Regions from separate parts of the Homo sapiens genome. Here region 2 is linked to region 1. Evidence: promoter capture Hi-C in 16 types of primary human blood cells and fetal thymus (Javierre and others, 2016). All regions are on one chromosome and are shown on one strand. The core of a region is centred on a gene start or on the middle of the fragment in contact, and the rest is flanking DNA. Distances in the headings are between cores, read along the strand shown.

The links. The method cuts DNA at HindIII sites, captures the fragments that hold promoters and counts their contacts. A CHiCAGO score of 5 or more calls a contact.
Region 2: a fragment that was not itself captured here is called in contact with the fragment with the promoter of SLFN13 in region 1 in 6 of 17 cell types (non-activated CD4 T cells, naive CD4 T cells, total CD8 T cells and 3 more); the score reaches 8.5 in non-activated CD4 T cells.

What each region holds. Positions count from the first base shown.
Region 1 is chr17:35,447,516-35,450,577 of GRCh38, forward strand. It overlaps SLFN13 (schlafen family member 13), which reads right to left and starts at 1,251. Exons shown (of 6, transcript NM_144682.6): 1 at 1,207-1,251. RefSeq lists enhancers at 527-686, 1,565-2,066, 1,957-2,166, 2,067-2,566 and a silencer at 1,257-1,336. The HindIII fragment of the contact is 16,320 bases long and covers 1-3,062 here.
Region 2 is chr17:35,316,598-35,321,851 of GRCh38, forward strand. No RefSeq gene overlaps it. Among named protein-coding and RNA genes, the nearest start is that of SLFN11, 54 kb to the right of the region's middle. The HindIII fragment of the contact is 2,718 bases long and covers 2,429-5,146 here.

The sequences.
Region 1 (3,062 bases), core at 1-2,500:
TTCTTGCCCTTGCTTCTCTGTGGAAATTGATGGAAACAGTTTCGCCTCCTACACAGGTATACTGTAGGTAAAATCAGAACAACACAAATCCTCCCATCCACTCCCAAGCCCCCCACCCCACTGAGGAAAACTGGTGGGGACTGGCTAGTCTCAGGCAGAAACAGAAGGAAACAGCTGCGACAGAGGCTCCCTCTTGGGAAAATAAAACACAGAGCTCTTTGTCCTTCTCAGATAGCAGCTCTGTATTTTACAGACGTTGGGAGGGAGACATTTTTCTCATTTCTCCCCTTTCTAGATTGCAGGGTAATCAGGATAATGGGTACAGGGTAATGGCAATTCTAATTCTGTTTTGTTGTTTTGTTTTGTTTTGTTTTGTTTTTGTTTTGATACAATGTCTTCCTGTGTTGTCCAGGCTGGAGGGCAGTGGCGCCATCACAGGCTCAGGCGATTTTTGCCTCAGCCTCCGGAGAAGCTGGAACCACAGGTGCGCGCCACCAGGCCCGGTTAATTTATTAATATTAGTATTATATTATTATTATTATTATTATTCATAGCGATAGGGTCTCCCTACATTGCCCAGGCTGGTCTCGAAATCCTGGGCTCAAGTAATCCTCCCACTTGGCCTTTCAAAGTGCTGAAGCTACAGGCATGAGCCACCACACCCGGCCTAATTCTGCTTTTTAACTCTTAGATTAAGAACAATAATTTACAGTGGTTAGTGAGTCAATGCCAAGAACCCTGAAACAAGAGTCCCAACCTTCGCAACGGGGGAAGCCTCCAGGACGCACTTGGCTCTGCCTGTTTGTTCCGCCCCCGCGGAAACCGCTGCTCGCTGGGCAGGGGCTTTCTGTTTTGCAGCCGGAACAGGAACACAGATAGCCCGCCAAGCCGCCGGCGACACCTTCCAACCCCTTTAGCTCTCCGCACCGTCCCTCCCCACCGCCCCGCCTCCACCCGCGCCGCGATCAAGTCCTCATAGCCTTTTAGGGAATTTGCTCAGCAAACTAGCCGAACCCCAAAGGCAGGGGAGAAGCACGCAAATACCCCGACTCCACCGGCTGGCCGGAGCTGGGGGGCGGGGGTTGCTCTCCTAGCTTGCTCCCCATCCGAGTCAACGCCAGTCCAGGGTCGTGCCGGACTAGACCCTAGGGCGTGGGTACAAACGGGAGCTCCGCAGTCCCCGTAGGAGCAGGGACCCTCTCTTACCTCTCAAGCTCCAGCGCGTCAAGCTCCAGGACACTCCGCGTTTCCCTGGAGGCGCCAAGGTCAGGTTCTTATAACCAATGGTTGGCGCCTACCTGGGCAGGTCCCACACAGGGGATGAACGAACCAATGGGTCCCAGGCAGGGCATGGACGCGCCAATGGGAGTGTCTACAAAGCCCGGGAACACTTTGCCACGCTGTCTAGAAGGCCTGGCGGGAGGCTCGCGCCTATGAAATCCCAGCACTTTGGGAGGCCTAAGCGGGTTCATCGCTTGAGCCAAGAAGTTCGAGACCAGCCTGGACAGCACAGTGGGACCCCCGTCTGTACAACAACAACAACAACAACAACAACAACAAAATTACTCAGGCTTAGTGGCGCGCGCCTGTAGACTCAAATGTAGTCTCAGATGCCCGGGAGGCTGAGGCTGGAGGATCACTTGAGCCCGAGGAAGTCCAGGGTAAAGTGAGTCGAGATCGCACCACTGCACTCCAGCTTGGGCGACAGAGTGAGAGCCTGTTCCCCCTACAAAAAAAAAAAAAAATGTCTGGAAACGCCAAGTTTTCTGATTGCTTTCGAGTGGTTCTTAGTTCTTTCTTACTCCCCCTCCGCCCCTCCTCCGTCCCTATCTCTCTCTCCTTTCCCGGAGCCTGCGGTCCCGCCTTCCCCGGACCCCTCCTCTGAGGGTCCAGCCAAGCTCTCGCCCGAGCTTTCCCCTTCCACCGCACTGCAACTGCCCATACCCCAGCTTGGGCTTCTCTCCCCACTGCCTGCCCCAGAAAGTGGGCCTTGAGACCCGGGAACCCCAGGTCAAAATGCGACGGATGCTCGGATCGGGCGGCACTCGGTTCCTGGCTGGATTTGTGGCTCCGCAGACCCCGCGCCAGAGTGGGATGTGGCGGCGGCCGGTGCTCTGTGCTCAGTCAACGCCTTGGAGAGGAGGACTACGAAACCCATACACTCGGACAGAACCCTGGCAGGTGTTAAAGGCTGCGGCAGAGCAGAAAAGCAGAACCCTGGCTGGTTTTCTTGTAACACGAGCAGTGTGACGGTTACCGGGGTTGACCAAGCACCGCGCATCGGCCAAGTTCTCACTGACGCGGACTGGCCCAAGGGTGGGAGCGGCGGTTAACACCGGGGTGATTAATATACGCTCCAGTGGAGGCTAAAGTGAGAAAATAAAACGTACTCCAATACCACCCCCCCTTCGCCCCAGAGATTACCACTGACCACTATTAACACCCTATTGTACATATCTTTACGGATCATACATATATATTACACAAACATATATGTAATACTTTTTTATTAATACAAAGTCACACTGTATGTACTCTTCTTAATCTGCTTTTTTCAATGACTTCCACCTTTCCATTTCAGTAAATCTTCATATAATCATATTCCAGTTTTTTCATTTTTCTTTAAAATGCGGTTTATAGATTGTGCAAACCTGTACTGAATCCAGAACTATACATCTGTAAAGCGCTGGAAAAAAAAAAAAGGCTGTCAATCTAGAATTCTATAACCACCAAAAACAAAACAAAACAAGTCCTCCAAAATGGAGGCAAAATAACGACGTATTCAGACCAAAAAAAAAAAAAAAATCTTAGGAAATTTGTCACCAGCAGATCTTTACAAAAACTATTAACGTGTTTTTTTGTTTTTTGTTTGTTTGTTTGTTTGTTTCTCAGATGGAGTCTCGCTCTTGTTGCCCAGGCTGGAGTGCAATGGCGCGATCTCAGCTCACTGCAACCTCCGCCTCCCAGGTTCAAGCGATTCTCCTTCCTCAGCCTCCCGAGTAGCTAGGATTACAGGCGCCCGCTACCAGGCCCTGCTAATTTTTGCATTTTTAGTAGAGACG
Region 2 (5,254 bases), core at 2,538-5,037, 130 kb before region 1:
AGTGATGTTGAGCATTTTTTTCATATGTTTGTTGGCCATTGTATATCTTCTTTTGAGAATTGCCTATTTATGCCCTTTGCCCACTTTTTGATGGGATATATATATATATATATATACACACACACACACATACACACACATATATACATATATATGCATATATATGTGTATATATACTTATATATACATGTATATATATACATATAAAGAAAATGTGGTATATATATATATATATATATACCACATTTTCTTTATTCACTTGTTGGTTGATGGGCATTTAGGCTGGTTCCATATTTTTGCAACTTCAGGTTCTCCTGCTAGAAACATGTGTGTGCAAGTGTCTTTTTCATATAATGATTTATTTTCCTCTGGACAGATATTAGGTAGTGGGATTGCTGGATCAAATGGTAGATCTACTTTTAGTTTTTTAGGGAATCTCCATACTGTTTTCCATAGTGGTTGTACTAGTTTATATTCCCACTGGAAATGTAAAAGTGTTCCCTTTTCACCACATCCATGCCAACATCTATTTTTTTTTATTTTTAAATTATGGCCATTCTTGCAGGAATAAGAATGGTAAGGTGGTATCACAGTGTGGTTTTGATTTGTATCTCCCTGATCATTAGTGATGTTGAGCATTTTTTCATGTTTGTTGTCCATTATATATCTTCTTTTGAGAATTGTTTGTTTATGTTCTTTGCCCACTTTTTGATTGGATTATTTTTTTTTTTGCTAATTTTTTTGAGTTCCTTGTAGATTCTGCATATTAGTCCTTTGTTGGATGCATAGTTTGCAAATGTTTTCTCCAACTCTGGGTTGTCTGTTTACTCTGATTATTATTTCTTTTGCTGTGCAGAAGCCTTTTACTTTAAGTCCCAACTATTTTTTATTTTGTTGCATTTGCTTTTGGGTTCTTGGTCATAAATTATTTGCCTAAGCCAATGTATAGAAGAGTTTTTCTGATATTATCTTCTAGAATTTTTATGGTTTCAGGTCCTAGATTTAGGTCTTTGATCCATCTTTAGTTGATTTTTATATAAGGTGAGAGATGAGGATCCAGTTTCCTTCTTCTACATGTGGCTTGCCAATTATCGCGGCACCATCTCTTGAATAGGGTGTCCTTTCCCTACTTCGTGTTTTGTTTGCTTTGTCAAAGCTGGGTTGGCTGTAAGTATCTGGGTTCTCTATTCTGTTCCATTGGTCTATGTTCCTATTTTTATACCAGTATAGTTTGAAGTCGGGTAATGTGTTGCCTCCAGATTTGTTCTTCTTGCTTAGTCTTGCTTTGGCTATGCGTGCTCTTTTTTGATTTCATATGAATTTTAGGATTGTTTTTTCTAGTTCTGTGAAGGACAATGATGGTATTTTGATGAGAATTGCATTGAATCTGTAGATTGCTTTAGGCAACATAATCATTTTCATAATATTGAATGATACCCATCCATGAGCATGGAATGTGTTTCCGTTTGTTTGCATCATCGATGATTACTTTCAGCAGTGTTTTATAGTTTTCCTTGTAGAGATCTTTCACCTCTTTGGTTAGGTATATTCCTAAGTACTTAACTTTTTTTTTTTTTTTGCAACTGTTTTAAAGGGGGTTGAGTTCTTGATTTGATTCTCAGCTTGGTGTGCAGCAGTGCTACAGATTTACATACATTGACTTTGTATCCTGAAACTTTACTGAATTCATTTATAAGATCTAGGAGCTTCTAAATGAGTCTTTAGGGTTTTCTAGGTATACAATCATATCATCAGTAAACAGTGACAGTTTGATTTCCTCTTTACAGATTTGGATGCCCTTTATTTCTTTCTCTTGTTTTTCTGTTTCCCCTTATTTGTCCTCTTGTCATAGATTTTGAGTACTATGTTGAATAGAAATGGAGACAATAGGCATCATTGTTTTGTTCCAGTTCTCAGGAGGAATGCTTTCAACTTCATCCAAGCCTTCCATAAAATCCTTGTATAAGCACTGGTAATAGGATAGGGAAGTTTCAGTCCTGCTAACTCCTGTTCCTACTCCTACTCTACCTCATATTGGGTTGGCAGTCTTTACAAGCACGTCAGCCTTTGAATTGGTGCCCTGGAAGTTTTCTCTCTAATCCAATGGCACGATCTCCAAAGTTATCAGAAACTTGCATTTAAGAGTTCTTTTCATGAACCCCTCCAAAGAAGTAATTCTTGAACTGTAGCTGATTATAACTCACTTTTTTTTTTGAGAAGGATCAAAGCCAAACATCAATTGTGGATGACAAAAGTCTTAAGACAGACATAAAGACACAGTTGACCAGGAAATTAGGTTATTTATTATTTTAACATAATAATCATACATTACTGACAACATATATTAAGACACATTAGAATTTTAGGAATTTCATATAATCCTGGAACACATATTAACGACACATTTATATAAATATAACCCAAAGGAAGCTTAACACCACCTCAGATTTGACAATGCTTCCGGTATAATTCTTTTTTTTTTTTTTTTTTTTTTGAGACAGAGTTTCACTCTTGTTGCCCAGGCTGGAGTGCAATGGCACGTTCTCAGCTCACTGCAACCTCTGCCTCCTGAGTTCAAACAATCCTCCTGTCTCAGCCTCCTGAGTAGCTGGGATTACAGGCATGTGCCACCACACTGGCTAATCTTGTATTTTTACTAGAGATGGGGTTTCTCCATATTTGTCAGGCTGGTCTCGAACTCCCAACCTCAGGTGATCTGCCCGCCTTGGCCTCCCAAAGTGCTCGGATTACTGGTGTGAGCCACTGTGCCCAGCCACTTCCTGTATAATTCTAACATTACAAATAAGCCTAATAAGCCCAGCATGTCTCTCTTGAAGTTCAGGGAATCCATTTCCCAATAAGTTCCTTATTTCCATTTGAGAACTCCTCAGCCTGGAGTTCATTGTCCATATCACTATCTGCATTTCAGTCAAAACCATTTAACCAATATCTAAGAGCCTCCAAATTTTCCCTCATCTTCTTGTCTTCTTCTGAACCCTCAAAGCTCTTCCAATACCTGCCTGTTACCCAGTTCCAAACCTGCTTCCACACAAAAACTCACTATCACAAGGACAGTACCAACAGGGATGGTGCTGTCATTCATGAGAAATCTGCTCCCATGATCCAATCACCAGCAACCAGGCCCTACCTCCAACATTGGGGATTACATTTCATGAGATTTGGGTAGGGACATATGTCCAAACTATATTAACCACATATATCTGTTTCTCCAGGATTGGTCCCTGGTGACTTATTTAGTTGTTTGGTGTGGTCATGTTTTCCTGGATGATCTTGATGCTTGTGGATGTTCATCAGTGTCTGGGAATTGAAGAGAGGTATTTATTGTAGTCTTCATAGTTTGGGCTTATTTGTTCCCATTCTTGTTAAGCATTTCCAGGTATTCAAAGGGACTTGGGCCCCAAGCCCAACAATGCTGTGGCTTTTGTAGACTTGTAGAGGTACCACCTTGGTGGTCTTGGATAAGGTCTGGAAAAAGTCTGTAGATTACCAAGCAGAGACTCTTGTCCTTTTCCCTTACTTTCTCTTAAATAAATGGAGTCTTTCTGTCTGTGGTGAGCCACCTGGAACTGGGGGTGTGGTGATACAAGCACCCCTGAGGCCACCACCACTGAGACTGTGCTGGATCATACCTGCAGCCAGCATAGCACTGGGTCTTGCCCAATGCCCACAATAACTACAATCTGGCTACCATCTATGATCACTCAAGGCTCTAAGACTATACAATCAGCGGGTGGCAATGGCAGCCAGGTTTGTATCCTTTCCTTCAGGGCAGCAAGTTTCCCCAGGCAGGTCCAGAGATGCTGTCTGTGAGTCAGGAATTGGAGGCAAAAACCAATAAATAATAAACATCAGAGAAGAAATAAATAAAATTGAGACTTTAAAAAAAAAGAAATAAAAAAGATAACAAAAGGAACAGTTGGTTTATTTATTTATTTATTTATTTATTCATTTATTTTTGAGATGGAGTCTCGCTCTGTCACCCAGGCTGGAGTGCAGTGGCGCGATCTCGGCTCACTGCAAGCTCTACCTCCTGGGTTCACACCATTCTCCTGCCTCAGCCTCCTGAGAAGCTGGGACTACAGGCACCCGCCACCACGCCTTGCTAATTTTTTGTATTTTTAGTAGAGATGGCGTTTTACTGTGTTAGCCAGGATGGTCTCGATCTCCTGACCTTGTGATCCACCCACCTCGGCCTTCCAAAGTGCTGGGATTAGAGGCGTGAGCCACCGTGCCAGGCCTGTTTTTTTTTTTTTTTTTTGAAAAGATACATAAAGCCAGGCACAGTGGCTCATGCCCAGCACTTTGGGAGGCCAAGATGGGAGGATTGCTTGAGCCCAGGAATTCAACATATGCAAATCAATAAACATGATACATCATGTCAACAGGATCAAAGACAAAAACCATGTGATCATTTCAAGAGATGCTGAAAAGGCATTCAATAAAATTCAACATTCCTTCATGATAAAAACTCTCAACAAATTGGGATAGAAGAAACATACCTAGACATAATAAAGGCTATATGTGACAAACCTACAGTTAATATGATAATATTACATTTCCAGCAGGAGTGTAAAAGTATTTCCTTTTCACCACATGCATGCCAACATCTGTTAATTTTTTATTTTTAATTATGGCCATTCTTGCAGGTGTAAGGTCATCTTGTTGTGGTCTTAATTTGCATTTCCCTGTCCATTAGTGATGTTGAGCATATTTTCATATGTTTGTTGGCCATTCGTATATCCTCTTTTGAGAATTGTCTATTCATATCCTTTGTCCACTTTTTGATGGGATTCTTTGTTTTTTTCTTGCTGATTTGTTTGAGTTCCTTGTAGATTCAGGATATTAGTCTTGTCAGATGCATAGTTTGAAAATATTTTCTCCCACTCTGTGGGTTGTCTGTTTACTCTGCTGATTATTTCTTTTGCTGTGCAGGAGGTTTTAGTTTAATTAGGTCTGATCTATTTATTTTTGTTTTTGTTGCATTTGCTTTTGTGTTCTTGGTTATAAACTCTTTGCCTAAGCCAATGTCCAGAAGTGTTTTTCTGGTGTTATCATCTAGAATTTTAATGGTTTCAGGTCTTAGATTTAAGTCTTTAATTCATTTCCTTTTCCCTAGAGACAATCAAGCTTTCGATGATCATGTGATGAGGTTTCCAGTCAGTTCCAGGTGAAGACACCACTGGCCATCAAGAAGCTACCCTCTCCCCACCAGACAGAGCAGGATGAGAGTTCT